Regions from separate parts of the Homo sapiens genome. Here all the other regions are linked to region 4. The links are contacts of gene promoters, found by promoter capture Hi-C in blood cells and fetal thymus (Javierre and others, 2016). All regions are on one chromosome and are shown on one strand. Each heading gives the region's core, a stretch centred on a gene start or on the middle of the fragment in contact. The rest is flanking DNA. Distances are from core to core; before and after follow the strand shown.

What was found. The method cuts DNA at HindIII sites, captures the fragments that hold promoters and counts their contacts. A CHiCAGO score of 5 or more calls a contact.
Region 1: a contact is called between a fragment that was not itself captured here and the fragment with the promoter of ARAP2 in region 4, in 2 of 17 cell types (M0 macrophages and M2 macrophages). The highest score is 8.1, in M0 macrophages.
Region 2: a contact is called between a fragment that was not itself captured here and the fragment with the promoter of ARAP2 in region 4, in 1 of 17 cell types (M2 macrophages). The highest score is 6.3, in M2 macrophages.
Region 3: a fragment that was not itself captured here is called in contact with the fragment with the promoter of ARAP2 in region 4 in 1 of 17 cell types (M0 macrophages); the score reaches 6.6 in M0 macrophages.
Region 5: a contact is called between a fragment that was not itself captured here and the fragment with the promoter of ARAP2 in region 4, in 1 of 17 cell types (M2 macrophages). The highest score is 5.9, in M2 macrophages.
Region 6: a contact is called between a fragment that was not itself captured here and the fragment with the promoter of ARAP2 in region 4, in 1 of 17 cell types (M0 macrophages). The highest score is 7.9, in M0 macrophages.
Region 7: a fragment that was not itself captured here is called in contact with the fragment with the promoter of ARAP2 in region 4 in 1 of 17 cell types (M2 macrophages); the score reaches 6.0 in M2 macrophages.

Annotation. Positions count from the first base shown.
Region 1 is chr4:37,969,751-37,972,450 of GRCh38, forward strand. All of the region lies in intron 2 of TBC1D1 (TBC1 domain family member 1), which reads left to right. Among named protein-coding and RNA genes, the nearest start is that of PTTG2, 11 kb to the left of the region's middle. The HindIII fragment of the contact is 1,183 bases long and covers 840-2,022 here.
Region 2 is chr4:37,989,151-37,991,850 of GRCh38, forward strand. All of the region lies in intron 2 of TBC1D1 (TBC1 domain family member 1), which reads left to right. Among named protein-coding and RNA genes, the nearest start is that of PTTG2, 30 kb to the left of the region's middle. The HindIII fragment of the contact is 6,203 bases long and covers 1-2,700 here.
Region 3 is chr4:38,008,159-38,010,858 of GRCh38, forward strand. All of the region lies in intron 2 of TBC1D1 (TBC1 domain family member 1), which reads left to right. Among named protein-coding and RNA genes, the nearest start is that of PTTG2, 49 kb to the left of the region's middle. The HindIII fragment of the contact is 5,234 bases long and covers 1-2,700 here.
Region 4 is chr4:36,243,202-36,245,901 of GRCh38, forward strand. ARAP2 (ArfGAP with RhoGAP domain, ankyrin repeat and PH domain 2) reads right to left here and starts at 1,313. Exons shown (of 33, transcript NM_015230.4): 1 at 978-1,313. It overlaps LOC439933 (a long non-coding RNA gene), which reads left to right and starts at 915. Exons shown (of 5, transcript NR_122079.1): 1 at 915-1,010; 2 at 1,971-2,109. RefSeq lists a silencer at 1,109-1,688. The HindIII fragment of the contact is 5,605 bases long and covers 176-2,700 here.
Region 5 is chr4:38,119,156-38,122,065 of GRCh38, forward strand. All of the region lies in intron 19 of TBC1D1 (TBC1 domain family member 1), which reads left to right. Among named protein-coding and RNA genes, the nearest start is that of PTTG2, 160 kb to the left of the region's middle. The HindIII fragment of the contact is 2,340 bases long and covers 458-2,797 here.
Region 6 is chr4:37,903,118-37,905,817 of GRCh38, forward strand. All of the region lies in intron 2 of TBC1D1 (TBC1 domain family member 1), which reads left to right. Among named protein-coding and RNA genes, the nearest start is that of TBC1D1, 13 kb to the left of the region's middle. The HindIII fragment of the contact is 1,716 bases long and covers 427-2,142 here.
Region 7 is chr4:37,879,159-37,881,858 of GRCh38, forward strand. No RefSeq gene overlaps it. Among named protein-coding and RNA genes, the nearest start is that of TBC1D1, 11 kb to the right of the region's middle. RefSeq lists an enhancer at 2,130-2,630. The HindIII fragment of the contact is 2,866 bases long and covers 1-2,700 here.

The sequences.
Region 1 (2,700 bases), core at 181-2,680, 1.7 Mb after region 4:
AAGATGTAATTTACATTCTGTAACATTTTGGTATTTAGTAAATCCACAAATTTTGGTATTTAGTATATTAATGTAACCATCATCACCATCTAATTCCAAAACATTGTCATCACTGCAAAAAGAAACCCTGCACCCATTAGCAGTCTCTCCCTATTTTCTCCTCTCTCCAGCCCCCGGTAACTACTAGTCTATTTTCTGTCTCTATGGATTTGCCTGTTCTGGATATTTCATATAAATAGAATCATACAGTATGCAGTCTTTTGTAACTGGCTTATTTCAATTGGCATAGTGCTTTCAAGGTCCATCAGTGCTGTGGCATGTATCAGTACTTCATTACTTTTTATAGCCAAATAATATTCCATTGTGTGGATATACCATATCTTGTTGATCCATTCATCAGTTGAAGGGCAGCTGGGTTGTTTCCACTCTTGGGAGTTGTGCTGCTGTGCACATTCATGGACACATTTTTACATGGGCATATATGTTTTCAATTTATGCAGAGGGATTTTTAGTATTAGATTTTCAGGATTTGGTATTATCCTTGGCAAATATGGGTTTCTTTGGAAACAAATTTTTCTGTTTGTAAGAGATGATTGCATATCATCAAACTTACACTAACATTCCCTCTCCACTATGAAGCTCTGATTTCTGTCCTATCTCCTCCTATGCAAGGCCTGATTTCCAGAGAACGTTAATCTTCTAAGCCTTTCTCCATGCGGATCCTTCTTCCTGGAAAGCCCATTCCCTCTCCACCTTCTGTAAATGGCCTGAAACCAGCCAGGAAGCTGGGTTTTCCTTTGCAGCCTGAAGTTATTTTCCTTCCTCTGGGAACTCATCGAAGCTTCACCTGGACTTTGAGGGAAAATAACTTCAGGCTTTTGTCACTCTTTTCCCTGCCTGAGCTTCCCTGCTACCCTCTATGCCCCTTGAGGGCAGGATTCTGGTCTGACTCCATTTTGCTATTTCCTGCAAGGACTTCTGTGGCTTTCCAAAATAGGTGCTAATGAATATTCATATTTGTGAACTGAATTCCTGATCCATTGCCAAGTGGTTCTGATTCACTTGAAACCCAGTTGAACTTCCTTGTAGAGTTTGTATTACAATGGCTCTATTTTTAACCAGGTCTTAGGGTGGGGAGGAGCAAGCTGGCAGAGTGAGGTCATTCTTTTGCATGTGTCCCTGCCTCACTGGCCCCCCCCACTAGAGGGCAGCCTGCCTGGCATCACCTCCTAAACTTACAGGAGGTTTTGCCGCCCTTGCTTCTTGTTCCTCCTCAAAAGAAGAAATTGGCAGAAGAGCTGGGGCAGGAGTGTCAGGGTTTGTTTTGGTGGGGATATGGTCAGGCTTAGTAGGGAAGCAACTCTTCCAGTTCCCAGACCGGCCCCCCTGCCTTTCAAGTCCTCCGTTAATGTCTCAGGAGTGCTGAGATGGTGAGACATTAAAGCATCCTTTTAAAGTTACTTAGACAACAATTTGAGATTTCTGTAGGGATACTGTATTAGTCTATTCTTATGCTGTTAATAAAGACATACCTAAGACTGGGTAATTATAAAGGAAAGCGGTTTATTGACTCACAATTCCACGTGGCTGGGGAGGCCTCAAAATCATGGTAGAAGGCAAGAAGGAGCAAGTCACATCTTACACGGCAACAGACAGGAGAAGAATTGAGAGCCGAACAAAAAGGGTTTTGCCTTATAAAACCATCAGATCTCATGAGACTCATTCACTACCATGAGAACAGGATGAGGGAAATCACCCCCATGATTCAGTTATCTCCCACTGTGTCCCTCCCACAACTCATGGGAATTATGGGAGCTACAATTCAAGATGAGATTTGGGTGGGGACACAGCCAAACCATATCAGATACTATCGTGTTTAGATCTCTGCAGTCCTATTTGGATAGCCTATTGCTTTCCACAGAGCAACTATATATATATATTTTAAAGTAAAGGATCTAAAACTGTAAGAGTGGTTCTTGATCCTGGCTGATAATCAGAATCACTTGCTAGAATATATTTCTAAGCTTTAAGTAAACCCAGAGTCAACATTATGGGTCAACACCAATAATGACCTCTGTGGCTGAATTCAGTGGGCTGACACATTTGACTTGGCTAGGTGGAGTGTTTTAATAATTGAGAATGCATTCTCTAAGATGCTGTAGTTACTTCATTCTTTATCCTCTCACACCTTGCCCTCTTCACACATTTATATGACCTGCTTGCTCTTTGAGGTCTCTGAGAATTTGACCTTTGCTCCAAAACAGCCCAATCATCTGAGACCCTCTACTCTCTCTCTCACTTGGCCACCTTCCCATTACAGGTGACTCTGATAGACAATCAGGGCTGGAAACTATCAGTGTCTTTGAGCAATGACTATTCTGTCTGCAGAGGTTCTCAATTCTGACTGCATGAGAGAAACACCTTGGAGATGTTAAAAATTACTGATGCCTGGCTGGGTGCGGTGGTTCATGCCTGTCATCTCGCACTTTGGGAGGCTGAGGCGGGTGGATCACCTGAGGTAGGGAGTTTGAGAGTAGCCTGACCAACATGGAGAAGCCCTGTCTCTACTAAAAATACAAAATTAGCCAGGTGTGACAGTGCATGCCTATAATCTCAACTACTCAGGAGGCTGAGGCATGAGAATCACTTGAACCCAGGAGGCGGAGGTTGTGGTTAGCTGAGATCGTGCCATTGCACTCC
Region 2 (2,700 bases), core at 74-2,573, 1.7 Mb after region 4:
GGCACATTTTTTGTTAGGTCTGATAAGATCTCTGAAGCCTGCTACCTGGAGGCCTCATCTGCATGATAAAAACCTTGGTCTTCACCCAGGTTATGACCTTGTCTTAACCTACACACTTATTTCTATTGATTCCAGATCTTTAGATAATAACGCTTTCAACTAATTGCCACTCAGAAAATATTTGAATCCACCTATGACTTGCAACCTCCCCTCCACCTTCAAGTTGTCCCACCTTTCCAGACCAAACCAATGTACACCTTACATATATTGATTGATGTCTTATGTCTCCCTAAAATGTATAAAGCAAGCTATAGCCCCGACCACCTTGAGCACGTGTTCTCAGGACCTCCTGGGGTTGTGTCATGGGTCGTGGTCCTCACATCTGGCTCAGAATAAATCTCTTTAAATGTTTTACGGAGATTGATTCTTTTTGCTGACACTAATATTTAGATTCTTTCTGTTGTTCTAGCACATTCTGCATGAATTAAACATAAACCCTGTTCCCTAGTACAGAACAAGAGCAAACTGCTTTCTTTAGGCCACAAGTAACTTAGATCAGTTAAGGGGAAAATGGGGGAGAGAGGAGGACATTGGCTTCTGCCACCAGCAGCCTGTGTGACCTTGCCCAAGGTCACAACTCTGTGGGGTTAGTTCCCCTTCCCTGAAATAGGTGTAGGGAGGGACTCCTTGACAGTTTCTGGTTTTTTTCGTCTCTCAGAGTGCAATGAAGAATTTCTTCATGGCTAAGGCTGTTAGACTCCAGAAAATAGTTTGCCAACCAAAGACACAGAGTTTCCAATTTTGGAATACTTTAAAAATAGGAAGGAAGTTTATTTGTTTAGCAGAATTTATAATTGTAGGACTGCCCAAGGCAGAGAATTAGCCAAGTGGTATTTTGCGGAAGTTCTTTTTAAAGGGTGGGCCCAAAGGAAACCAGTCATTAGGTGGAAATAAACTGTCAGATTTTTGAGACGTTATTTGCTTAGGGACATTTACACTGGTCTATTGTGACAGTCTCTATTGTGTTAGGCTTTTAAAAGAAATATGTAAGTTTCCAAGTTTAAAATGTTAGAGCAAGTGTCCAGTCCACGGCCTGTGGGCTACATACAGGCCAGGATGGTTTTGAATGTGGCCCAAAAAAGATTCATCAACTTTCTTAAAACATTGAGTTTTTTTTTTTTAAGCTAATCAACTATCATTAGTGTTAATGTATTTTATGTGTGGGCCAAGACAATTCTTCCAGTGTGGCCCAGGGAAGCCAAAAGATTGGATACCCCTGTATTAGAACTTGTAAAATTTGACTTCAGAAACACAACCAAAAGCCCGCTTATGAGTAAGGAGTTTGTGGCCCCTTGTGTACTGATTATTAATCAATTAATTGTATAATAAGCATGAAATATTGCTAGTACATCTAAGGCCAAAGCCTTCTTACGGTTCCAGAAAAAGCTGTATTCCTGAATTTCCAGGTGAAGGGAAGGGATTCTCCTTCCATTTCCAGAAATATGTGAATATAATACATAGGGATTTTTATCACACTAGTGTTTCAGTAAAAGCAGCCCTTCAAGTCTGTGCCATCCAGTTTTGGTGTAACTGAAAGAACATCGTACCAAAGTTTGATTTTTGTCAATTCTCTAGTGTGTTAATCAGCTGAGAATGTGGTCTCTGGATATTTTTCCCCAAGGAAAGAGCTGGATGTACTAGACCACCAGACCACACAACTCTGTATTTGTTTTGCAATAACTACACTATTTGGGGGAGTAGTGTGGTGTTTCCAGACGTTCTTGGTCAAGAAATCTGGCCGCTTCAAGCTCAGTGTTGATCACAATCTATTTCTTTTGCCTCTACTCTGTGGCAGGCACTTGAGACACAACTGCCAAGATGAGAGAGACCCAGCTGCTGACCTGGGGCGGGGGTGGGTGGGGGGAAGGTGGTGAAGGCAGTCACAGAGTCAGCCTGCCAGAAAGCAGGTGGGGAACTGTAAACCTCTGAGTAGCCCCTTGGTATACAGAGGTAATAATTTCCCAAATGTAGTAAATCCCACTTTACAACCTCACGGTTAATTTTGATCAGGGATAAGTAGAACTGACTATACACTGTTAACTTAGATATTGTCCTTCTCAAAAACATCATTTTTATTCTGGGTGCCAGAGATTTGGCTTGGGTGTGGGTGTTAAGAACAGTCCACAGTGTCCTGGAGTACCTCTCCGCTGATCTGGGGGCTCTTTAAACCTCTCTAACAAGTTTTTGTGCTAATCCTGACTGAGTAGATGGAGGCAGTGGAGCCCAGCTGGCCTGTCACTATGGGGCAGAGGGTGACTCTACCCTCAAGCCCTGCATGAAGACCCCAGGGTGGGCACCACAGCCCTTTACAGTCACTTAGCACCTGCTGCTGAACACGAGCATGCAGACCTGGTAAGGCTTGTGAGTTTCAGAGAATTCCTGCAAGTCCCTGGAAATGTGGGCACTGGCAGCTCTTCTCTCTCTTTTTTTTTTTTAAATTTAGTGGGCTTAGAGGTTTTAGCCTAATAAGGAAATTTTACACTGGACGATTTTATCCCAAATAAAAGCAAATCATAGGGACCCAGTGTTGCCTAAAAAACCAGTCCTTACTGGGGAGGTCTAGTTGTGTCTAGCCTGGCTCTGTGACCAGATGCCAGCCATTCCAGCCTCCTGTGGCTGCATTTCATCCCGAAAGTGAAT
Region 3 (2,700 bases), core at 51-2,550, 1.8 Mb after region 4:
CCATGAAGTCTATCTATATTTATGCTGGCCACCCAACATTTTAAGTTTTAAAAACTATTTTAGAAAACCTACGAAATAATTTCGTATCCTTACAGTGCAATCTTCCTTTTTCTTTCTCACCTCCTCCCACCCTCTTTTAGCTCCTACAGCCATTCGATTACTTCTTTTGTGGTTTCATAGTTTTAAATGTTTGTAGAAAGGTGTTGGTCAGTCAGAAGGTTGTAGTGAATCTTTTAAACAATTATTTTGGAGTACAAACTATGTTTTGTGTTTGCATAGACCATCTCTGTGGGGTTTAAAAGCTACTAACAGCTTATCCAATTTGCCATTTCACAACCAGGGAAGCTGAATAATGCTACTTCTTTTTTACATGGGATGAAAGATCAAGACCCAAAGGACAGAAAGATAAGGCAGAGGGGATGAAAAAGGGGCCCCTGTGTCAGGGGCTAACAGTCATTAGCACTTCACCTATGCCCAGATGCCTCCTCAGCCAGCTAACAGGGACACCTGATCACTCCTTGGCAAGATGTAACACATTAATCTGACCTGTTGTCTAATTGTAAGCATGAAGCAGGCATTGAGGCATTAGATCACCACAGCATGAAGCAAAAGAGCCAAGACAGACCACTGCACAGGAGCGGCCTTCTGTGCCTTCGCCCATGTTTGTGTTCTGGCACCTGTCACCTTATATTGGAAATCACATATGCGTGAGCCTCCTAAAGTCAGAGGGAATCATGTCTTACTCATTGTAGGAGGCATATTCAAATCTTCATGATTGAATCTAGTCCTGTCAGGCTGAGCTGCTGCATAATATGAATGTTTACCTGTGTCCTATCTAGATAGCAACTGATGGTATTTTCTGTTTAAATGATTTAAGTAATAGGCACTCATATTTTCTCAAGTGTTTTGCATGAAATTTAAGGCATGTAAGATAGAGTGAGGAAATACTTGGTTTAATTTAGTTTTTACCCCCTTCCTTTATACCTTACGACCAACAAATACAAATAACTGCTTGTCAATAAAAACAAGCCACAAATCTGTTCCTTCTGGACAATGATTACGTAGCATTTTTTTTGTGTGAAGTGCTCATTTGAACTCCTTACAATGAGAAAGCATTTCATCTAAGGGAAAAAACACAATGTGTCCGGCCATATTTTTGAAGTCTTAGAATGTGTTACCATCATATAACGGGAAAAATGCTAGAATTTTAAATACACAGTGCTTCAGACTTATTTAATATTTGTTTCTTACTTGTTGACAGAAAAACAAAGCAGCAAATGTAAAGTAAAATGACTTTTTATTCTAAATATTGTTTCAGGAGCTCTTTCCTAAATCCTTGTGAATAAAATTACACTTGCAGTGTATTTATAATCCTTTATAATCCCTAAATCCTTAAAAAGCAAGTTGACCCAAATGTTTAAATAAGGACTTTATTTACAGAACTGAATATTTCTAATTCTCTTGGGATGTCATTATCTGGCTACATATGAAACAGTATTCACTTATGCATGCTTCAGAAACTTCATACATTACTGTGCATTTGTTAGTATGTGAACAAAGAAACTTGTTTTGGTTGTGAGCAAAATGCAGACTTACTTTCAAAATTGAGTTTTAGTATAAACTCAAATAGGTTGGCAGAAGAGGAGTTTAATTTTTATGTATCTAAATAAGGCCTGTTTCTTCATTAAAAGAAAATTAAAACTAAGCCCCACACCCTTATTGAATCTGTCCCAATAAGATGCTTTTTGGGTTCTTGTTTGTGCTATAGTTGGTTTTGATTTACTTCGTCTGCAAACAGAAATGACGTAGATACTATTGCTCCAACAAAACTAAAAAAAGATTTTCACTAAAAGTACCCAGATCATATCAGTGGGAATAAATCCACTGGCCTCAGTGTATTTGCCCAAAAAGGATCTGTGTTTTGCAGTAAATATTGTAATTGGAAGTATATGTTCTTTTAGACTAAATAAAGTTTTACTTGAGGACATTTTTCAGTTAGGCATGTTTATTTTGGGGGTTTAGTATTGTCTTCCGCCTTATTTATTTTTACTTATCTGTATGAGCCAAAGCTCCAGCCAGCTCTCTCAGCCCTTATCCTGTTGTAAGTTGCTGACTCCTTTTCTTGAAGATGGAGTGTCCCCTTTCTGGGCGTCTCTAACCTCATCCTTGCCTCCCCCCAGGTCCCCATCTTCTCTGCCTGCGATTCCTTAGTTTCTCTACACCTGAAATGTTGGGGTATCCCAGGAGCCTGTCTTGGCACTCCCTTCCTTTACTTTCCCTCCCGGATGTGAGCTGCTCATGTCCAGCTTAGACTCCCTGTCTTGGACTCTAGGCCCACTTACCCAGCTAGATGCCTTTACTTTCAAGTCCTCCTGGTCTTAACATAGACAAAAGCAGAACTCATTGCACTGTCTCCCCAAACCTTCTCCACTCTGCACTCCCTCTGTGAACTAATGGCACAGTCATCCACACAGAAGCCTAAGCCAGAGCCCTGGGTACCACGCCCCATCTTCAATATCCTCAGCCCCCTATCCAGGTCACCACCAAATCCTGTTAGTCCTGTCTTCCAGAATCTTTCATTCAGCCTTTCTCTCAGCCTTCCTCTCAGCCTTCAGTGCTTAGTTCTTTCTCAGTTCAGGCTCTCAACATGCCCCATCTCAATTACCGTAAAGGATCCTAATTAAACCTCCTCCTCCGGGC
Region 4 (2,700 bases), core at 63-2,562:
GTAGAGTGCTTAAGTGCAGATAAATCAATACTGAGCTTGTAAGTACAATACTATTATGAGTAATAACAATGACATCCTATTAAATGTACTTTTAAAAATAGCTTATTTTCAATACACTTCTTGATTTTTTTTAAACCGAAGGCTGTATTCTACTGAACAGCCTACTTCAAGGACAAGCTTGCAAAAAAAAAAAAAAAAAAAAAAAGAATTTGCTATCAGGATACCTACTTACAACACCCTAAGATGTCATTATTCCACACAAATTAGCTTATTTTCTTGTGTTTTCCTCTAATTATCAAAGGCTATATAATCCACGAACCCTTTCCCCAAATCAAAATAACTCCAGATCACCTCAAGGTAGGAGGTGTTTAAGAAAACAAGCCAGAATTAGATAAAGTAAAACTTACTTTATTAAATAGGATGGACACCACTTCTCCCAAGAGAACTGTCTCCAAAAGTAAACAAGAAAGATCAATCTGGTAAACTCACATCATACAGGTTCCCGTGTAAGGTATCGGGTTCAGGCAGGTGGAAGCCAAATGATCGTAATTAAAGTTAATTAACAGGCCAGTCGTCTTAACGTGGTTAACAAGCAGGGTGCGGGGCAGCACAGACACCCGGGCAAATTCATGATCTCTACCGAGTAAATAACTTGGTGCCTGAAACTCACTACAGCTTCTTCTTATTTAAAGGTAGGGGAGAGGAATGGAGGGAGTGTCCAGCTGTCTATCCGGATCCTCACCCTCCCGGGTCAAATCCCAGAAGTGGAGTTCTTGGATCACTTACCGGCTTCTGGTTTCCTTTCAGACGCCCACACGCGGGAGCGAAATCCAAGGGGCGGACACCAGAGCCGAGCACTTTGCGCTGAGGAAATTTACCCGGTGAAGTGTCGAAAAGCCCCAGCCCCTCCAGACAGGGTCCTCCCACCCCCGCGTGGGCCATCCCGGCCCAGCCTTCCCGAGGCCCCGGGTACTCGCCTTGCGCTCGGGTCGCGGAGTTCGAAAAGCGAGGTGAGGCGGCGCTGGGAAGCTCAGCGCCGGCGTCTCTCCCAGCCTTGGGCGCTCGGTCCTCGCCCCTCTGCCGGAGGCGCCAGGCCTCCTCTTTCCCGGTCCCCGCCGGCTGTCCGCAGTCGCCTCTGCTGCCTGGCGGCGGCCGCGCGGGCGGCGCTGTTAGTGGGGCCGGCGTGTCGCGGCCGCCGCACCTGGAGGCGGGGAGCGCGGGCCGCGGACCCGCGCTCAGCTCCGGAAACGCCGAGCCCGGCGCCCGCGCCTTGCTCAGGTGCTCCCGCGCCTCGCCTCGGCCGCCGCTTCCTCTCCGCCCGCGGGGGCGGGGAGCAGGCGCCCCGCGCGGGGGAAGCCGGAGCTCAACGGCGGGGGCGGCCCAGCCGGCCTCCCTGGTTCCGCAGCATAGTTGGGTGACTGACTCAGACCGCCGCGACTTGGCCGCGCCTGGCACCCTCGCCACCTGGCGCACCTCGGCCCGGAGGCGTCAGACCCCGCTGGGGAAGCTGCGGGGGCGCGCCCTGGAGCCCAGAGCGACAGGGGCATTACCCACCTTCCCGGGACGGAGATGCCCAGGACCTTGTGTTGGCTCCTCCTGGCCAGTGGGTTTGTCTGTGCGCACTCATGGGGGGTTGAATGTCAAATGGGCGGAACCTCGCCACGACTGATTATTAGTATTACTCTTCCAAGTACTTAAAGTGTTAGCTCAGCGTTTCCCAAACTGAAGACTCATCTAGGGCACTATTTTCCCCAGGCTGCTTCTATGTAAATTTGCTCCTTCTTGCACCTGTGGCGGTTAGATCCCAGAGGGGCATTTCCCCTTTGAGTTGGACTCTGACAAAGGAGGCAGCGAAGGAAAATAGGGGATCCCAAAGAACCCTTGTGGACCTCCAAATATCTAAGCGTCCGTAAAATCCAGTTATTTGCAAGTGAGTTCACAGACCAACTACTTTTTTTTTTTTTTTTTAGACAGGGTCTCACTTTGTCACCCAGGCTGGAGTGTAGTGAGGCAATCTCAGCTCATTGCGCCTCCGCCTCTGGGTCCAAGCTATCCTCCCACGTCAGCCTCCCAGGTAGCTGGGATTACAGGCGCGCACCATCAGCCAAGGTAATTTTTTTTGTATTTTTGGTATAGACGGAGTTTCGCCTTGTTGCCCAGGCTGGTCTCAAACTCCTGACCTCAAGTGATCCACCTGCCTCGGCCTCCCAAAGTGCTGGGATTACAGGCGTGAGACACTGCCCCCTACCAGCTTTTTTTTTTTTTTTTATAAACATCTCCCACAGACTACCTGAAATTCTCTTCATTAAAAGGTGAAATGTATTTATCTTTCCCCTGTTCCTGTTGATGGAAGTGAAGCAATTAAGGAAAGCGCAGACCTTATGAAAATGAGATAATTGGTGAAGTGCGGAAAGAGAGAGGCTTCCCACAAGCCTGGGCCCTTAGGATTCTTCAGTCATCACCTTCACCCACACTAACTACCTGCCCAAAGCACCGTCTTTCCCTGGGGAGACTCTGAAGCAGCTCTGTCTTACTAGAGACACCAAATATCCAGTTCCTTTTGAACTTAATACCTCATAGCCGACCTCATTTCCACCAGGAAAGTTTTATTGACATTTTCCAAACCACGGGAACTTTTTCTCTGGATTCCTATAGCATTTATAGGAGGAATTTTATTTATGTGGCTCTTTTCTGGCTTCA
Region 5 (2,910 bases), core at 378-2,877, 1.9 Mb after region 4:
TTTTTATGATTAGAGAGCATCTTAAGGGAAATGTTCAAAGACATTGATACTACTTCAGACATGCTTTGGGTAAACATCTTAAATATCCAAATTCTAGAAATCCTAAAATTTGCTTTTTAATATAAGTGAGCATTTACCCTTCTTCTCTCTTTTCCTTTCCCCCCAAATACTAGATTTTTATTATTCACTTTTATCTACAAGAACCTTTAAAGAGTTTCCCATTTTGCTTTACTATAAGAATTCATATTCCTTCTTTTCTGTCCCTGAAAAAATAAAATCACTAAATTAAAATAGATACAAAAAGCTATCTCCTGGTTGAGCATATCTTTAGTGAGAGTTCATGAAGGTTTATACCATGGTTAAAAAAAAAAAAAGATTAACTAAAAGCCTCAAAATTGTGTGCTTAGTTTATTAACAAAAGAGTTACAGAAACTAAAATCTCAAGCTCTAGGCTTTAAGCTTTCTTGCCAATAACTTCTATGTTTTTGACTTCTCTAACACTGGAAATTAAAAGAAAATTATTAATCTACCTTCCTTACATTTTCTCCACATTTTAGCTATGATTTTCATACAGGGTCATGAAGAGGAGTGAGGATGGAAATGGGGAGGAGGGAGCGCTGTTTGTTAATGGTTTGTAAACAGCTCAGGCATTAAATTACTTGGTTAGTGAAGAAAATTCTACCAAGGCAACCAGGCTGACCACAGACTGGAGGGCTGAGGGGTCATCACTGAGTCATCTCTGCCCTGGGGCCCCAGGCACTGGAGCTGCTGCTTGCAGAAAGTTCTGGGGCTCTGGAAGAGAAATTTTTCCTTCGGCTCATAAATGGGTAAAAAGACGTTAACAAACAAGCAGACTCCACTTTGGAAATGATAGCCCTTCTATTGCAGAGTAATTTGAAGCTCTCTGAAGCTCACTCTAATGACTTCATAAATCAAAGCTGCAGCTTGTAAAGGTAAGATATTTTTCTGTAGACTTTGTAGGCAGTGGTGAGACTCGGAGTTTCATAAACATTATGCATAGAGATGCCAGTGTCTACATCATTCCTGGATCCCACAGACTCCTGCTGTGCTAAGTGGGTCGTTGTCCAGCTGGCCAAGGGCTCCTGGGATTAGAGGCGGGAAGTGGGATCTCAAGGCCGCACTGGCTTGTGATGTCACTTTGCAAGAACTGCTTTTTTTTCCACAGTCCATCCCATCTTTCAGTACTTAAAAACAGAAAAGATAGGTTTTTACAAACCATTTCTATTTTTAGCACTGATGACTTAGAGAATGGTGATGGAGATAGCTTAGTTTTATATTTCAAAGCCTGCCATTCAGTCACTATAGTCTTTTTTGGCCTAGGGCCCATTTCATTATAAGCCTTTAAGTCTGGATAAACTCTAAAAACATGTAGAACTTTGTTGACTAAGTAAAATATTTCAGTTTGCACCACCTTAGCTCATATATTAGTTAATAGGTTACCTGGCATTAAGTATGTATCTGCTCCTTGGAGGGGCGGCTGCCAGTGATGTGTGCGCCTTAACCTTCACATGATACTCACACCTTGCTGAATGGCAGTTCTTCTACCTGGTGTCACATAATGTCAATAGCCCCTTCCTGTATTTTTCTAGCTTGAGTACAGCAGGGCCCTGGGAGAGACGCTTGCTCTGTTCACTTTCTCATCACATCTACCTTTGGGGGAAGAAAAATCTAAAAAACAGGACCTGGCTTGCTCCTGATGGAGGAGGAGGCTGCAGTGTTCAGCCTCTGATGTTTTTCTATAGGACATGCTGCCAAATAGATGAGGGAGGAGGAGGAGTATAAAAACTAAGGGTTTGGCAAAAAACACAGAAGCCACCTGCAATATAGTGAAGGCTTCAGAGAGACTTTAGGATGAAAATAGACTGAAAACAAGATTGTTTCTGTGGCCAGGAAAATCTCCAGCTATTCAGGTGACATGATGCCGCGTGATGATGAGTGTGTCCAGTCTGTCTGTGCTGTTGTTCTGCACAGCACTGTCATCAGCCTTCAGCGTCCCCTTTACCCGTTACTCATAGAATGTAGCGGAGCCACGACTGGAGGACCGCAGCCTTCCAGAAGAAAGTTGAGAAGGCTCAGCCTTGACAAAGACAAAGGTGGCTGGAAAAAGAGATGCAGTGCAAGCTCACATAGGAAGATTGCACTTTGAGATCATGAAGTTTAGTTTCAAATAGAGTTCCAATACACAGTAACGCAATAAGAGGGTTGCTGAAATGTCCTCAAAGAAAAGCAGTTCCTTTGTGTTGTTCCCAGCGAATACAGTGCAAAGTAATAGAGTCAGCTGAATTTAAGATTCCTATTTCCTGCCGGATAAAACGTCTTGCCTGTTTCTAGGTGGCTTGAAAAAGGAGAGGAGAGAAGGAAGAGGCAGGAGAAAAGTCCCACTGAAAGGACGTGGGCTACAGTGTAGTGAGCTAGGCTACTGCCTCACTGCGCTGGGCGGCTCCAACAGTTCACTGTCTCCTAGGGAGGTTTTCAAATGCAGGACATTTGCTCACTTTTCCAAGGAGAGTTATTGTTTTTTTGTTTTGTTTTGTTTTGTTTTGTTTTAAAAAATTCCAGAATGTAAATGTATAAGATACCGGAAGACAGGCAAAATAAAAATAATTGGTTTGGGGCAGTGGGTTTATAGGTAACATTTTTCTTTACTATTGTTTTAAAATTAGATGTGATTTAAAAAAATTTCCAAAGCCAAAAAACGGTACAAATGCTTTAAAGGATGAAGATGTTGTCCCCAAGTGTCATCAGACAAATTTAGGAGGCCCTTCCTCCCAAGCAAAGCTTCCTGCAGTCCTTCCTTCAACTCTGAATTCAAGCACATTCCTGCATTGTGCACCCAAATGATCTCCCGATTTAAGACCCCCTGTGTCTCACAGAAGCTTCTGGGGCTGA
Region 6 (2,700 bases), core at 35-2,534, 1.7 Mb after region 4:
GTTTTGATGCGATCAGGGGTTCTTTGTGTTTTTTTCTTTCGCAAACCTCAGGTCAGATCTGATTAGCTTGTTATTATCACATGATATGGCTGAAAAAAAATGTGAGACATGGTAAAAGTTCTGCTCTTTCCTCGTTCATTTGTGCTTGCTTTGTTATTAGCATTCGTTGTAGCTCTGGGCAGGACTCATTTGAAGATGCTTGCCCATTTTATGAGGATTAGCTTAGATAAAATTGAAAATATAATGCAAATAGCAACTTTCTCAGTTGGGCTCAGGGCTCCACAGCTAACCCCATGGACTGTGGAGTCTTGCCGTTGTTTTGGGTGCCAAGCAAGCCAAGTCACATGTGATTCAAGCTGTCTGCCACATGTACAGGGCGAGGATGCGAGTGTCAATCCACCTGTTAACTGTCAGTGAAGCCTTGAAAGCTTCTCATATTTTCAAGGTTAAAATCTGGATAGAAATGCTAAAGTTTTCTCTCTGCACTCCATTAGGTTATTTTATGTACTCTCTAGGGTGTAAGGACCTTATTTAGAAATTAATATTCTTGGTATCAAGTAGATGCCCTTTTGCTTGTTCATTTGTTGGTTCTTCTAGTCATTCAGAATTGCTGTTGCAGGTACTGTTGGAGATGATATTAGCAGAGGCTTGTAGGAAGGCAGGAGCATCAGTGGGGAATAGGACCAGGTGATCTATGTATAGGACATAATGGAAGGACTGAGAAGGGAGCCTAACACACACCCAAAGGGTAGAGAAGGCTTTGTGAAATAAAGGCTAATATGGAGCTCAAAACCACCATTTCACTCACAGAATCAAACTCTCATATTATAAATCATTTCATGTTATTGTCCACACATCTCAAGTGGGCACGGCAGCATCAGGCTTGGAGATTCAGAGGGACTAACTTCCTGTACTCTAATCCTACTTCTGCACCCATAAACTGGGTGGCCTCAGGCAATTGAGTCTGTTTTCTTATCTGTTAAATGGGGATAATTACAGTATTTATCCAATAGAGTTGCTGGAAAGACTAAATGAGGTAGCACTCGACCTGAAACTTAGTAAGCATTTATAGCCATAAAAACATTTTCATTCAAGAAAATTTTACTAGAGGCAGATTATATGCTAATTTCATTTCACGTCTTAGGTAAAAAGAAACATGATACCTAGATGAGTGCCTTCAGCTTTCAAAGATGAGATTCTGGTCATATTTGAGGAACATTTTAAAAACTACACGTATAACTTAATGGCTCCTATTATTTGGACAAATTCCAGAATGAAAATGAGAGGACTGAACAGCCTGTACCTCAGTCCAGCTCTATATAGTATTTGGACTGAATTTCCTTGGGGAGAGTTTGTGCGTGGAATCGTTGTTCAGCATTTTACACATTTGACTCTTTCCCAAAATCTTTTACGGCCATCTGAGAATAGGCTTCTGGCCAGTCATTCGGATGCCTGACAAGAGAAAGAGATTTATAACCAAATTCTGTAATTGGGACTTCCAGTCTTTCCCCAAGTAGAGAATTGGACTTACTCTATATGCTAAAAACCCATGGTTGAAATATGAATTAGTTCTTAAGTGATTTTTGGCTTGCATACCATTTTTGCAAACACAAATTGTCATTACTCTGCTCATTTAATAAAAGAATAATTTGTAGTATAGGTATATACCTCAATCAGTGATTTTGTTGTTGGAAACAGAACAGTAAATCACACTGGCCATGATGCTAACAGCGTGATAGATTTTCTGTTCTTGGGACACCAATGTCACTGTATCTCATAGCGAAGGATTATCTGCTGTAGGAGCATTCTCTTGACTACTTATAACATTTGCTGGGTGAAATAATTCTCCAGGTTAAGGCCTCTTCTAAACAGATGAGGTCAGCACTAACTGCATTTGCCAGAGAAGACATATGCATTTACTGCCAGCATCATAAACACAAAACTACAGTTTGCGAGGAAACCCTTTGACCAGCATCTAATTAATTCACTGAGTAATGTCTTGGGAGAAGAGGCATGTAAAGGAACAATTTTATAAGCATGCCATGAGATTGTTTTCTATTGTATGTTCCATAGAATATGAGGAAACTTCAAAACATTTTGTGGAAAAATTGAATTAAAAAGTAAAAAACACATATATACATAAGCTTTATTTCTCAAGATAAACTTTATCAAGTTCAAGACACTTTTGTAAGCAATGTTAACAGCCATTGAGTCGGTCTCTAAAGAACTGAGGGTCCTGGGAATTTAACCATGTTTATACAGTCTTTTATACATTATTAACTGGAGAAAAATTGGCGCTCTTTAAAGATTTTTTAAAATTGAGAAGCAAAAGGACGTCAGAAGGAGCCAAATTAGGCCTGTAAGGTGGATGCCTAATGATTTCCCATGGAAACTCTTGCAAAATTGCTCCTGTTTGATGAGAGGAATGAGCAGGAACATTGTCATGGTGGACAAGGACTCTGGTGAAGCTTTCCCAGGCGATTTTCTGCTAAAGCTTTGGCTAACTTTCTCAAAACACTCTCATGATAAACAGATGTTATCATTCTTTGGCCCTCCAGAAAGTCAACAAACAAAATGCCTTGGGCATCCCAAAAAACTATTGCAACCATTTGCCCTTGACCAGTCCACTTTCGCTTTGACTGGACCACTTCTGCTCTCAGTAGCCATTGCTTAAATTTGTCTTGATCTTTAGGATTGCGC
Region 7 (2,700 bases), core at 18-2,517, 1.6 Mb after region 4:
TGGAGTTTTGCTCTTGTTGCCCAGGCTGGAGTGCAATGCTCGATCTTGGCAATGCTCGATCTTGGCTCACTGCAACCTCCGCCGCCCAGGTTCAAGCAATTCTCCTGCCTCAACCTCCTGAGTAGCTGGGATTACAGGCATGCACCACCACACCCAGCTAATTTTTGTATTTTTAGTACAGACAGGGTTTCACCATGTTGGTCAGACTGGTCTGGAACTCCTGACCTCAGGTGATCCACCCTTCTCGGCCTCCCAAAGTGCTGGGATTATAGGCGTGAGCCACCGCGCCCAGCCAAGATTGAAGTTATTTGAATTTTTACCTGAAAGAAAACATCCTCTTGGGTTAGCTTCCTGTTCCCCACTACAGAAAGAGGAAGAGAAGAGAAGGCTACATGAAAGAGCTGATAGCATCCAGAGAAGGAAGAACAAGAGAGAATTACATCACTGAATAATGACAATGAGCATGATGTGCTATACTGCATGCCAGGTTCTGTTCCAAGTGTTTTACATTTACTAACTCATTAACCCTATCAACAACATAAGATAAGTACTATTATTTTTATTCCCGTCATCTTAAAGAGGGGACACATAGGCCGGGCGCGGTGACTCACGCCTCATCCCAGCACTTTGGGAGGCCGAGGCGGGCGGATCACAAGGTCAGGAGATCCAGACCACCCTGGCTAATACGGTGAAAGCCCATCTCTACTAAAAATACAAAAAATTAGCCGGGCGTGGTGGCGGGCGCCTGTGGTCCCAGCTACTCTGGAGGCTGAGGCAGGAGAATGGTGTGAACCCGGGAGGCGGAGCTTGCAGTGAGCCGAGGTCACGCCACTGCACTCCAGCCTGGGCGACAGAGCCAGACTCCGTCTCAAAAAAAAAAAAAAAAAAGCGGGGGGACACAGACACATAGACACACCAGAGTTCAGTGAAAATAACTTGTTCAAGTTCACATAGCCAGGAAGTGGTCTGAGACCATCCGATGCTGGTCAGTGAGACAGGTATGAGTTCTTCCTTTCAAGAAATGTTCAAATTTAAAGAGGCTTTAGCCTCTTGTGATTCCAGAACATTAAGGAGGGATTATGCACAGATTTATGGAGTCTTGTCACTGATTTCTCATGGGTGCTTAACCTAAGATCAAAGGTTCTCTGATGGTTCTGTGCATACACTCCAAGGGGTCAGTGAACTTGGGTGGAAAATAAAAATACATTTTTTAAGTTACTTCTAGCAGTTCTAATCACAATTTACATTTCTCTGCCTTTAAAAATTTAGGTGACAAACCATAATAGTATTATCACTCCCCATGACATTGTCATCAATAGAAATCATTGATTTTCATGTCACATTTCAGTTGTAACAAGTATCTCAGAATATCATATATTTTTATCACTCTCAAAATCATGGTAGTTATTATACCTGTGGGCAAATCTTGTTATTTAATACATTAATAATGATGTCCATATATTACAATATTATGCTTTTAAAAGTATATGTTGATGTCTGTATTTCCATATAATTGGTTACTTAAAGGAGAATTTTATATAATTGGCTATATAATTGGTTACTTAAAGGAGAACTTCTCTTAAAGGAGAATGTCATCCTACATTTTATATTTAGCAACAAAAGAATGAGAAGAAGGCTGAATGTCTGTACCCAGCCTTCCATATAATTTGTAGCCAATTACATGGAAATACAGATATCAACATATATTTTTAAAAGCATGATATCATAACATATGAACTTCATTATTAATGTATTTTATTTATTTTATTTTAGGCATTTACAAATATTATTCTGAGGAAGGTTCCATAGGCTTCATTACACAGGCAAAGGGATCTATACTATAAAAATAGTTAAAAACCTTTGCCCTAGAGCAGGGTTAGCAAATTATGTCCTGCTCGCCAAATCCGGCTACTTGTTTTTGTATGACCCATGAGCTAAGAATGGATTTTACATTTTTAAATGGTTGGAAAAATTTTTTTAAAGAATATTTCGTGACAATGTGAAAATGCATGAAATCCAAATTTCAGCGTCCATACTCACTAGAACACAGCCATACTCATTTGTCTGCATAGCGTTTGTGGCTGCTTTTGCACTGCAACAGACTTTTTTTTTTTTTTTTTTTCTTGAGACGGAGTCTCACCCTGTCGCCCAGGCTGGAGTGCAGTGGCGCAATCTCGGCTCACTGCAACCTCTGCCTCCCGGATTCAAGCAATTCTTCTGCCTCAGCCTCTTGAGTAGCTGGGACTACAGGCATGCGCCACCATGCCCGGCTAATTTTTGTATTTTTAGTAGACACGGGGTTTCGCCATATTGGCCAGGCTGGTCTCAAACTCCTGACCTCGTGATCCGCCCACCGTGGCCTCCCAAAGTGCTGGGATTACAGGTGTGAGCCACTGTTCCCGGCCACTGCTACAGATTTGAAAGGTGGGACAGAGATGGAATGTCCTGCAATGCCTAAAATATTTACTAAATGGGCTTTTAGTAGTTTGTCAACCCTGAATTAGAAGAGAGTAAGGATGCTGAAGACAAGGAAGCTGTCTCATATTTCTTTGCATCACTTCAGTGCCTAGTTCAGAGCCATGGAAAGAATAGCTCATCTATGCATCTCTACTGGTTGAAAGACTACTAACCCCTTTGCGGTAACTACCTGCCACTTTGGAAATCTTGGTAAATTCTACCTCCCCCTTAATGATTTCTCTA